Regions from separate parts of the Homo sapiens genome. Here regions 1 and 2 are each linked to region 3. The links are contacts of gene promoters, found by promoter capture Hi-C in human tissues and cell types (Jung and others, 2019). All regions are on one chromosome and are shown on one strand. The core of a region is centred on a gene start or on the middle of the fragment in contact, and the rest is flanking DNA. Distances in the headings are between cores, read along the strand shown.

The links. The method cuts DNA at HindIII sites, captures the fragments that hold promoters and counts their contacts. A contact is called where the count stands out against the background at its distance.
Region 1: a fragment that was not itself captured here is called in contact with the fragment with the promoter of NAPG in region 3 in 1 of the 25 tissues and cell types used here (IMR-90 fibroblasts).
Region 2: a contact is called between a fragment that was not itself captured here and the fragment with the promoter of NAPG in region 3, in 1 of the 25 tissues and cell types used here (lymphoblastoid cells).

The regions. Positions count from the first base shown.
Region 1 is chr18:9,812,211-9,816,485 of GRCh38, reverse strand. RAB31 (RAB31, member RAS oncogene family) reads right to left here. Exons shown (of 7, transcript NM_006868.4): 4 at 2,395-2,466; 5 at 1,264-1,370. Among named protein-coding and RNA genes, the nearest start is that of TXNDC2, 72 kb to the left of the region's middle. The HindIII fragment of the contact is 8,789 bases long and covers 1-4,275 here.
Region 2 is chr18:9,740,728-9,744,982 of GRCh38, reverse strand. All of the region lies in intron 1 of RAB31 (RAB31, member RAS oncogene family), which reads right to left. Among named protein-coding and RNA genes, the nearest start is that of RAB31, 35 kb to the right of the region's middle. RefSeq lists an enhancer at 1,157-1,451. The HindIII fragment of the contact is 7,473 bases long and covers 1-4,255 here.
Region 3 is chr18:10,523,617-10,527,650 of GRCh38, reverse strand. It overlaps NAPG (NSF attachment protein gamma), which reads right to left and starts at 1,624. Exons shown (of 12, transcript NM_003826.3): 1 at 1,493-1,624. The coding sequence starts at 1,548. RefSeq lists a silencer at 1,232-1,481. The HindIII fragment of the contact is 8,483 bases long and covers 1-4,034 here.

The sequences.
Region 1 (4,275 bases), core at 1,623-4,122, 710 kb after region 3:
TTCTAATGGTCATTACCATAGGAAAGTGTTAGTAAAATTGTGCTAGTAGTCATAATGAAAATAATAATGGAAAAAGTAACAACAGAAATAACAAAACCATCTAGCCCAAAGATATGTAGAGTCAGGGATGTAACTGTGTTATGTACAGGAGTTATAATTTGAACATTTATCATTGTATGGTACATCAGATCTGTATTTCCCTATCATTTTCTCTTATTTCTTCTCTGGTTGAATCAATGCCACATTGACTACCAAAAGTGAAAGGCCATTAATTAAGTTACTACACTGAGGGCAGACATAACAAAGGCATGATACCTTTGTACACTCAGGGATGACACTCAGGGATGGAGGACAGCATCTACACGGATGACACTCAGGGATGGAGGACAGCATCTACACGGATGACACTCAGGGATGGAGGACAGCATCTACACGGATGACACTCAGGGATGGAGGACAGCATCTCCACGGATGACACTCAGGGATGGAGGACAGCATCTACACGGATGACACTCAGGGATGGAGGACAGCATCTACACGGATGACACTCAGGGATGGAGGACAGCATCTACACGGATGACACTCAGGGATGGAGGACAGCATCTACACGGATGACACTCAGGGATGGAGGACAGCATCTCCACGGATGACACTCAGGGATGGAGGACAGCATCTACACGGATGACACTCAGGGATGGAGGACAGCATCTACACGGATGACACTCAGGGATGGAGGACAGCATCTACACGGATGACACTCAGGGATGGAGGACAGCATCTACACGGATGACACTCAGGGATGGAGGACAGCATCTACACGGATGACACTCAGGGATGGAGGACAGCATCTACACGGATGACACTCAGGGATGGAGGACAGCATCTACACGGATGACACTCAGGGATGGAGGACAGCATCTACACGGATGACACTCAGGGATGGAGGACAGCATCTACACGCATGACACTCAGGGATGGAGGACAGCATCTACACGGATGACACTCAGGGATGGAGGACAGCATCTACACGGATGACACTCAGGGATGGAGGACAGCATCTACACGGATGACACTCAGGGATGGAGGACAGCATCTACACGCATGACACTCAGGGATGGAGGACAGCATCTACACGGATGACACTCAGGGATGGAGGACAGCATCTACACGGATGACACTCAGGGATGGAGGACAGTATCTACACGGATGACACTCAGGGATGGAGGACAGTATCTACACAAAAGAGATTTCAATGCATCTTACCTAATATCTGAGAGGTCGCACTTGTTTCCAGCGATGGCCATTACAATGTTTTCTGGACCATGTTCTTTCAGCTCCTTGACCCATTTCTTCAAGGTATAAAATGAATCCTAAACCAACAGTGTACACAAATCATTAGAAAGACCCCTCAATATAATATTTCAACTAAGCAGAAATACAAGCCCAGTACAATTTAATGGAGAAAAATATTTTTAGGAGACTCATGCAGATTAACATACTACCTCTGTCTAGGCACAAAAGTTAATGTTAGCTGAAATATACTTAAATAGACCATATCAAGTTTTCTAAAATTAAAACTTGATCTAGTTAAGAAAATCATATCAGTGATTTTTCTCCTATAAATAACATTAATTTAAAATGATAGCCTGGACTCCACATGAATAAGAATAACAGGACTAAGTAAATGCTCATGCTTACACCAAGGAAGAAACATATATATTTAGAGTCCTGTCTTCCTGTTGGCCCTTCACTCACAATTGTCCTCTAGAAAACAGGCCAAGGGCAACACACCACATTTAGGTAGAAGTGGTCAGGAACTCGTGGAAAGTAACAGTGATGGGTCATTAAACTAACAGTCTTATGTGCTGAGTCAACACTCCAGAGAAAAAAAAGTAAATAATTCAGTTTGCAGGAGTGGGAAAAAATGTCATCAAACTACTGCGGTTATTTGTTGATGGAAGTCTAAGACCTTCAACGTGATAACTAAAAATATACTTATATATACACACACAAAGATTTACTTACATACACACGAATGTTATGCTTGGCATTTTAAGTATGTAGTATGATTGAAACAGTAACAAAAATAAGTATTCTGTAATTATAAAGCATGCAGAAATTAAAAATGATTTTCCTTTTCTTTAAAAGCTGACATTCTGCAGAATAGTACTAGCAGGCATGACTTTGCCTCTACAGTCAATTTTAAGAATGAATGGTCATTATTGTTTAATTTAGCAGATAAATATGGGATGCTTTGTTACATATACATGAAATAAACTCAATATATAGTGGCACGCTACTGGCAAGATGCAAGCAGTGACGTCTCTGCTCCAGTCTCTCTAAGTGAGAGAACCACCATAAATGACATCTAAATTCTGAAGGAGACATTCTTACCTGCTTGGTAATATCATACACGATAACAGCTGCAGCTGAGCCTCGATAGTACATGGGAGCCAATGAATGAAACTGTTTAAGAACAATGAACAGTTTTAGGCCAAAGTGAACAGACTTTATTCAATCCCAAATTAAACATAAACGTTTTATCCTACATCATCCTTACAGGATCCCTAAATTCCTTCCCTATATAATTTTTCCATGGTTCATATTATTTATTTATTTTATTTTATTTTTTTGAGATGGAGTTTCACTCTTTTCACCCAGGCTAGAGTGCAATGGCATAATCTTGGCTCACTGCAACCTCCACCTCCTAGGTTCAAGCGATTCTCATGCCTTGGCTTCCTGAGTAGCCAGGATTACAGGCATGCACCACCACATCTGGATCATTTTTGCATTTTTATTAGAGACAGAGTTTCACCATGCTGGCCAGGCTGGTCTCAAACTCCTGACCTCAGGTGGTCCACCTGCCTCAGCCTCCCAAAGTGCTGGTATTACAGGTGTGAGCTACCGCACCCGGCCCCAGAGTTCATATGAAATAATAAATCTTCCTCCTCATCAACACATATGTATGCTTGTGGTTTATTGACCATGAAATCTACTGTTGGGTAAAGGCCAAAAACAAATTTTATTTTAAATGTTACCATCTTGTGAATTTTCTTTTCCCTGCTGCTCATCATTTCTCTAATATAACTGACTGACCCAGGGTAATCTCATTAGAATTATGCGGCAGTAAAGGAAAGATGTATGGCAAGGAGAGGGAAAGGGAACACTGGCAAAGATCACAGGACCCTTGCTGAGCCATTAATGAGGACCAGTCAGCAAGGGCAACCTTGGCAGCAGCTGCCTCGGGTCTGGAGGGGCTGCCACCTCTCCAACGCGGGGCTTCACACCTACCTAAGGTCCACAAATGACAAGACAGCAGAGGAGCTCCATTCCAAAATGTTAACAAAGCAAGTGCTGCTGGTCACTAGCATCGTTCATCCCCAGACAGGAGAGGTCATTAGTCTCAGAATGCATACATTTTATGTATATTTTGGAGAAGGGTCCAGTCTTAATCTGCATATTTTTTTAAATTAAAAAGTATCCTGGAGGGGCCGAGTGCAGTGGCTCACGCCTGTAATCCCAACACTTGGGAGGCTGAGGCAGGCAGGATCACCCGAGGTCAGGAGTTTGAGAACAGCCTGGCCAATATGGTGAAACCCGTCTCAACTAAAAATACAAAAATTAGCTGGGCATGGTGGCAGATGCCTGTAATCCCAGCTACTTGGGAGGCTGAGGCAGGAGAAATGCTAGAACCCGGGAGGCAGAGGTTGCAGTGAGCTAAGATTGCAAAACTGCACTCCTGCCTGGAAGACAGAGTGAGACTTTATCTCAAAAAAAAAAAAAAAAAAAAAAAAAATAGTATCCTGGAGGGGTTTTGAAAGTCAATAAGAAAAAGATGGCTTAATAGAAAAATGGACAAAGATATATATAAAGGTAAATCACAGAAGACATATACATTGCCAACAAATATTTTAAAACATGTTCAATTAGAATCGGAAGAACACCAATAAAAATAAGGAGACACTTATAAATTATTAAATTGTAAAAAGATTTGTGCTGTTCAGTGTTGGTGTGGGTTTGGGAAGGGAGGCACACATACTCTACATGGAATGTGCTGAATATCTTCTTTCAAAGCAACTGTTGGTAATATAATCAAAAGTTGAAATGTGTGTCCCATTTGACCCAGCAATTCCACTTAGAGGAATATATACTGGAGTGACCATCACACGCAGGAAGACACATCCCTGCGCTGTTTATGGGAGTAAATGGGAATTGACTCATGGTATAATGTTATGAACTGAATGTTTGTGTCTCCCCTAAAATCCATGTATTGAA
Region 2 (4,255 bases), core at 1-2,500, 780 kb after region 3:
CTCTATTTCATTTCTCTTCACTCTGTATTTCCTACAATTTGTAACTTTGAGTTTATTTTGCTCTTCTTCTTCTAGTTCCCTATGTTGTAAAATTGGGTTATTGATTTGAAGTCTTTCTCTTTTTTTAATGTAGGTGTTTATGGCTATAAGTTTCCCTCTGAGCACTGCTCTGAAGTTTTGGAATGTTGTGCTTTTGTCTTCATTCATCTCAAGGTAATTTCCAATTTCCATTGTAATTTCTTCTTTGACTATTGGTTGTTTATGAGTCTACACATTTTTACAATATTAAGAGAAAAACTTCCAATGTCTTAAGCCCTCAGGATTAATTCATTCTGCTTTTTGCATCCAAGTTCCTCTTGTTAGGGCCCATTCTTGTCACTGGTTAACCAGGAAGCACGGTGCCTTTGTTATTTTTAATAGGGACCATAAAATATTACGTTAAAAATAATAATCAAAGGTAAAATCAACTCTCATACAGATACAAAATGAACATGTCAAAGATTTTATTGACTTCACCATTAATTAGGGAATTAATAAGATGTTACAACCAGTTAAAAGGAGAAGTCAGAGAAGCATAAGTATATATGGAGTAAAGGAATGTTGAAATGAATTTACAAATACGAACTTTGCTTTTCCTACGGCTTGGAGGGGGTCATTTTAGCCATGCTAACAGACATTTTTGCATGTCTACAGGCAATAGTTATTTTGCATTGCTACCAATTACCTACAACTTACGGAGGTATGAAATGGATCAAAGGCTACAATCAGATACCTTGGAAGGGTATGCTCTACACAATGCATAGTTTTCCACTGGAAATACTCAGTAATGTTTTCTGCTAATTCCAAATTTCCTCCTACTATGACATGGAAAATAAAAAGAGAAAAACTAAAGGTGTGGATGAGAACAGAAATTCATGGAGGCAACTCCACCGCTAAATAAAAATGCAAACTAAAATGAGGAAAGATTAATGCACCCACTGTGCCCCATGATTAAAGCACCCACTGCGCCTACAGGGTCATATAGAGGAGGTAAGTGGAGCCTGGGACCACAGAAGATGGGTGAGGGGATGACAGTGAAGTGAGTCAGCTGCCCATCTTCCCAACAGGCACAGACCGCACCCGGGAGTCCACAGTTAGATCTGTCTGCAAACTGAGACCAACAATCAAAAGACAGAGGTCCTGGAGGTGCCAAAGGCAGACAAATAAACAGACTTGGCTGCAAGATGGCGAAACATGGTGCTGCGGTGGCTTCAGCCAAGGTCTCCCTGTGGCTTCCCAGAGGGTGGTGGTGACTCAGAGTGTGTCAGGGATGATTAACAACTGGTTTTGCATGTGGCCTGAGAACGCAGATCCCCTGAAGCCCTGGGGCAGGAAGCATATCCGGGAGGGCCGGACCCAGGAGCTTTCCCAAACCCACCCAGCGCCCAACTCCATGTCCATCTGGGAGCTGTGAGAGGGTGGCAGCTCAGGTGCTACCTCCCTAACCAACTAGCCCTCCAGTGAATCAACCCGCCAGGAAATCTAGAAAATAACAGTAACTTTAAATACTTTTCAGATAGGCACTATATAAACATTGAGGTATTATTATTTGAATTAAGGCAATACTTTATTTTCAAGGGATCAAGATGTTTATAATCCAGGTATTACACTATCTGTTTATTTTCAGTAACACACATATTGTTTTATAGCTTTCGAGTACATTTAAGTTATTTGTACATGTGTTAATCATTCTTCCTCAGGTGCTGGTCATGCCTATACAGGGAAGGTGACCAGACAGAACTGAAGAAATAAAAATCAAAAAATTCAAGGAAAATAAATTATTTCAAGCAAAACTATTTCAGTCAAAAGCAGGTCTAGGGGCTGAATTCTTAAAGCTTTGCCGCATGTCCTCATTTCCCTTGGTACAATGGCATTTCAGAGCCTGTTTACACTGCTTTCTAAATGGACAAGTCCAAACCATGTTTGCTACAGTCCGAGAACATCAACATGTTGAAAGACAGCTTTGGTTTTTTAAAATCCTACTGTATTTCATTTGCGACTTTGAAAAACATTCGTGCTTTAGTGGACTGGATTTTTTTTAAAAAGAAGAAGAAGGAAAAGAAGAAGGAAAAAGAGCCAAGTTGTGGCTCCACCCCTCTGCCACTTGCTGCCGTGAGCTTTCCTGTTCCATTTCGCTGGGGAAAAAGCACTCTGCACAGGTCAAGCCAAACTGTCCGGAGAAGGCGTCTGCACTGCTCATGAGTAAAAGAGAAGGATTTCATTCCCTTTCCTTCCCACATCAAAGAGGGCACTCAGGGAGGAAATAAACTGTAATTGGGCATGAGCCAGCAATCAGACAGCCCCCTTCCTCAGCCTTCCCCAACCCTGCCCCTCCAAAATAAAACAAATAGACATTATCCTCATCTACAACATTTATGAATAGAAACATCTTTTATTAGAAAACAAAAAGCCATGAAGAAGAAAACACGTAGAACGTCCCTAGCGTGGAAACAGGCCGAGCCAAGCAGCCCCCACACTCAGGCTGGCGCTGAGAACTGAGGCCCCTTCCTGTCGGCTTGAAGGGGACTTGCTATTCCTCTGTCTCATTAGCATGTCTTTGCTCTTCCGGACCATCCGCCCAGACAAATGGGAGGACTGTTCCTGCCAGGAACTTCCCTGAAGGCCCATCCACTCTTCAGTAGGAAGCAGTAGAAGTTTGCCCCTAGGAGTCTTTGAAGTCCTCGAAACCCTTGCTTGCTGTTTCCACCAACTCTGCGCTGCAATATCGCGATTCTTACCCAACCCTCACCAAGAGCCTGCTTTGAAAGACCGCCTTCAATCACAGTTGCAACTCTCAATCCAGTCTGACCTTGCCTTCCCACTTCGAGCCCTGCCAGTGCTTTGCCGGGTGGTCTTCCCCAAGACAACAGTGACAGTCAACTCAACTCTGTCTTCTCAACGGCCAGTGCTGGGAGGGCTGGGGACAGCGTGAGACAGGACAAAGGGCAGACAGCAGCAGCCCTATGACACCACAGGCCAGGCAGCCACTTTGGGAAGCCACTGACTCACATTTCCTGGCTCCCTCTGGGTCCCTGGGGACCCTGCCACACCAGGAAACCTGGATGAGGCAGTGGATGAGGGGTATGTCCCGCTCATAAAGCAGACAGAGGAACCGCATGGGAAGTGAGGCGAGCATTTCCAAATGAAATCTCCACCCTCAATGGCAGGCCTGGGTTCCTGTGAAAAGTCAACGGCCCCTGAGGGGGCTGCTGGAGCAGCAGGACAGCCTAGCAGTGGCCTCCACCCCTGCCCACAGCCCTGAGATCCAGCCGAGGGCTGCCATGGACATGTACGTGCTGCACACAGGCTGAGAGAGGCTGGCACTGGCGCAGGACAAGTGGTCCTGCTGGCCCCTTCCTCCCAGCACAGAAAGGACTTCCCACTGGACAGATGGTGCGTGGCTGGCAGGAAAGCTCCATCAGCTCTGACTCTGCAACTCCAGCCCTTGTGATCCATCCACGGTGGTATTGTCTTGGTCACTTAGCACTGACACCCAATTCTGAAGTTTGCCACAATCCAGGGGTGCCCAGAGCAGCTGCCTTTTTTTTTTTTTTTTTTTTTTTTTTTGAGACGGAGTTTTACTCTGTTGCCCAGGCTGGAGTGCAGTAGCGTTATCTCGGCTCACTGCAACCTCTGCCCCACCAGGTTCAAGCAATTCTCCTGCCTCAGCCTCCCTAGTAGCTGGGATTATAGGTGCCCGCCACCACACCTGGCTAATTTTTGTGCTTTTAGTGGAGACGGAGTTTCACCATGTTGGCCGGGCTGGTCTCGAACTCCTGACCTCAAGTGATCCGCCCACCTCGGCCTTCCAAAGTGCTGGGATTACAGGCGTGAGCCACCATGCTGGGCCTAGAGTGGCTGCCTATTACACTATGCAGCACACAATGCCCCAACAGGAGTCACCAGCCTCAATGCAGCCCCTGCCAGGGGTTTTCCCAAGTCCAGCATCTTACACAATAGGGTCTTGTTTTAAGAACCCAGAGGCCACTTACTACAAGCAAGGAAGGCATTGCAGTGTGCGCTGCTACTGCTGACATATCAAAGCCCCCTGGAGGCACCTCTGCCATTAGAGACCCCTGTGCAGCAACTTCCATATGTCATTTCCCAAGAAAACCTGTTTTTCTGTTTACCCCCTTTATTCTAGCATTGGTATGATGTGGACAGAAGATGTGTGAGCACAGTATGATCTGCTTCTGGGTAACATTAACCCACCAAA
Region 3 (4,034 bases), core at 375-2,874:
TTTTTCAAGCTCTGCTCACAAATCATCTCCTCCTCAAATTTTCTCAGGCAGAATAAACTTCTCCCTCTGGGTTACCTATGCACAGTTAATACAGCTTTTTTGTGGTCCCTATTCCACACACTATTCTTATTACAAATTTTGCGTTTGCTCCCACTAGAAAGCAGAATGTTGTGGGAACCTCCTGCACCAGGAGAGCCCCAGCACCTTACACGCTGACTGCCTCGAGTCATGTGATAGAGCTTGAGTTTTTCCACTGTTTGAAAACTGGCTCTGCGATCTTTCACCTGTGCAGTTGGGGGCAAGTCGTTATGAGGCTTCCCTGAGTCTCATTTCCTCTTACGAAAAATTAGAATCTCTATTTGGAAAGTTATTGTGAAGATCTCAGCTTATGAAATTATGTATGTGAAGCACCCACCACAGAGCACAATGCTGACTTTTTCTTTTCTTTTTTTTTTTTTTTTTTGAGACGGAGTCTCGCTCTGTGGCCCAGGCTGGAGTGCAGTGGCGCGATCTCGGCTCACTGCAAGCTCTGCCTTCCGGGTTCAGGCCATTCTCCTGCCTCAGGCTCCCGAGTAGCTGGGACTACAGGCGCCCGCCACCACGCCCGGCTAATTTTTTGTATTTTTAGTAGAGACGGTTTTCACCGTGTTAGCCAGGATGGTCTGGATCTTCTGACCTTGTGATCCGCCCGCCTCGGCCTCCCAAAGTGCTGGGATTGCAGACGTGAGCCACCGCGCCCGGCCCACAATGCTGACTTTCTATTAACTGTAACTGCCAGATAAAAATGCACTGGAGTAATGAAACGGGGGGAAGAGGCTGCCAAAAGGATGAATTAAGGATTATCAGTTCAGTCCCACAAACATTTGCAGGGTGCCTACTACGTACTGTACCAGAGGTGGCAGGACATACACATCAAAGGACGAACGAAGCACAGTCCCTGCCCACAGGGACAGTAAAATGCCAGATGACAAAGGTTCACCGAGGAGTTTTTGGGGTAAACCTATGGTCCCCTCCACACAGGGGGCTCTTCTAGGGCGGTGGTTCTCAACAGAGCGATGTTGTTCCCCAGATGACATTTTGGGTTGCCACAAATGGGGAAGAGATGCGACCGGCACCCAGCAGGTAGAGGCCAAGGATGCTGCTAACGAGCCTCCGATGCACAGACAGCCCCCACCACAATCTTCAGGAGCAGAGCGCCCAAGTAGAGAAGCCCTCGCCCCGCAGCACTGCGCCGAGTCCCCGCCCACACCGGCTCTGGGGAGCGGACTTCCGGCGGGGTGGACCCACGGCGCTTCCCGAGGCGCCGCAGAGCTGACCCCGACCCCGGGAGTGTGACCCAGAGGACACCGAGCCCCGGCAGCCCTGCGGGCACCAGCGCGCCGAGGCCCCTCAGCCCTGAGCCCTCCCTCCCGCCCCCCCCGGGTGCTAAGGCCGCGCCAGTGAGAGACGGACCCGGCGTCTACACACAGGCCCCCGGAAGGTTCTCACTCACTATTTCTCTGCTTTGGCGAGGTGTTCCAGCCCCTCGTTTATCTTCTGAGCCGCCATCTCCACAGTCAGGTCTCTGACGTGGAGAGAGGGTGACCCTGCCTCTTCCTCCGGCGCCAAGAATCCGCCCAAATAGGCGTGGGAACGCCGAGGAGGAAGCTGGTGCAGCGCGACAGTCGAGCGGCTACGGAGGGCCGGAGGGCCCAAGCCGCTGCGACGAAGCGGGGCTGGGAGCCTGCCGGTGCGCCCCGCAAAGAGACATTGCGCAGGCGCAGCGCGTCAAGGCTGGCCCCACCTAGGGCATCTAGCGCAGGCGCGGTGAGATACTGATGGGGCGTATTCTTTCATTCAATATTTGCAAAGCACCTAATATGTGTCAGGCACTATTTTAGATGCGGGAAGATCAGCAGACAAAAACTCCCGCCCTCTTGAAGTCTTGCTTTTTCATTAATGTGAAACTGCTGTGGATCCTGTTTGTAGGGTTAATTGGCTTTATAATTTATTACATCTGAAGTTTCTCTGTATGACAGATAGAATAGTATTCTTCTATCCATTCTGCCTTTTGGGTATTAATTGTATGTCAGTCAAGAAACGAAACAGACTTGTAAACCCTGATTACTGTCAAATAATCCGCGCCCAACCCAAATAATCGCTCTAATATTTCAAGCCGTGATAAGTGCTCTAAATGGGAAGTTGAGGGATCTAAAGTCGCGTACAGTGGTCTGGTAAAAATAGTAACCAGTAATACAGTTGGCTTCATTCATAATTCATGGTGATTTCAATATCCACATGGATGATTCCTGCAATGACTATACAGCCTCTCAGCTTCCAACCTCCTGTGATCTTTCCCACACTAGCGCAGCCACACATTCCTGGGATCACACCCTTGACCTTACTCATAACTGTGTACCCTCCGTAGTGTCAGTTTCAAACAGCTCACTTTACTTCCCCTTTCCATTCCAGCTCATACCTCCTAGTGCTAGTAATTACTTAACCTTCACCAGATTCCTCACCTTTCCCTATCCCTCTGCTCTTACACGTCCTTCTTTTCCCAGCATAAATTCATGTCCCATCATTTTAGTGCGTATACTCTCAACGGCCTTGGCTCCCTCTCCCTCCTTTCTCCAAGCCAGGAAAAACCCCAGCTCTCCACCTACTCTGGAACTGCTCTTGAGCAAGTGAATTTGACTGGAAAAAAACAAACGAGGATGCTAACATTACTCATTTTAATGATCATAAACATTAAGCCGACCTTTGGTGCTGCTGAGCAACTCTCCTATGTTTCCATGGTCAAATCACTCACCCACTCACTTGGAGGGCTGTTCACACCTTCCTTCTCAAAACTCCTACACAATCTCTGCTTGCCTGCCAACTCTCACTTATTGTTGAATATGAAATAACTATTCGAAGAGTTCTTCCCTTTGGCCTCACCACACAATCGATCGATCTTCCTGCATCTATTTGCCAATCAATATTTTGCATTTTTTCTAGTGCCAACAGGTGAACTGGCCTTGGATTTTTTTCTCTATCCTCACTTTCTTATTTAGTACCCACACACAAGACCCCTCTTCATTTGGTTGTCTAGCCTGGGCTTCCTTTATAGGAAGGCAGCAGAATTTCAAGAGAGTGAAAGTGGAAACTTCAGGCTTCGTAAGGCCTGGACTCCCACTGCACATTACTTCTGCCACATTTTATTGATGAAAACATGTCATAAGGCAAGTTCAGATTCAAGAGGTAGGAAAATAGAGGAGTGTAAAATACTTTGGCCATGACTTCCAATTCACCACAACTCTGGGATGACTGATTAAATATAAAAGGACTGTTACCAGTGGAAAGCCTTATGTTTTCAAGTGAGTTTAGATTTATTAACCACCCAATACCATCACCCTCTAAAACCATTGAAAGTGCCCAGAAAGTTTTCTAAGCCTATAACCTCCTCCACATTCTCCCTTATTTATTCATTCATTATTGAATTATTGTTTACTGAATGCCCACTCTGCACAAGACATTAAGCCTACACACCTAGGACCCAATTGTTGAGCAAGAGATATAATGCCTGCCCTCATTGCATTCATGATCTATGAGAGGATACAATATTTAACTTAATTTTACTTTGGCATCAACAAAGAAAGAATGGGAAAAAAACCCCACGATAGTGATATAGCAGTTATTAAGAAATACTTTTTAGGCAGATAGTAAGGGTAAATGTTCTCAGTGGAAATTTTCCTGTTTTAAGAAACAACCCCTGAACCATCTCTTTTCTAACAGAAAAGGCAGCTTGAAGAGCCAGGCCCGCAAGCTTTGATATGCAAATGTCAGTCCTTAGAAACTGAGTTCACTCAACATGGTGATTCCGCCATCTCTTCCTTGTCATCAGGTGTACCAAGTGTCATGGCCACCTCCAGATAACACCATGTGTTCAGAACATCACGGTGACCTGTATTTGCATATTAAAGGGCTAAGGTGGGAGGGCCAGGTTTTTCGAGAGCTATGTAAATGACACACCTGGTCAAACCAATCCCCTGGGCCCTATGCAAACCAGACAC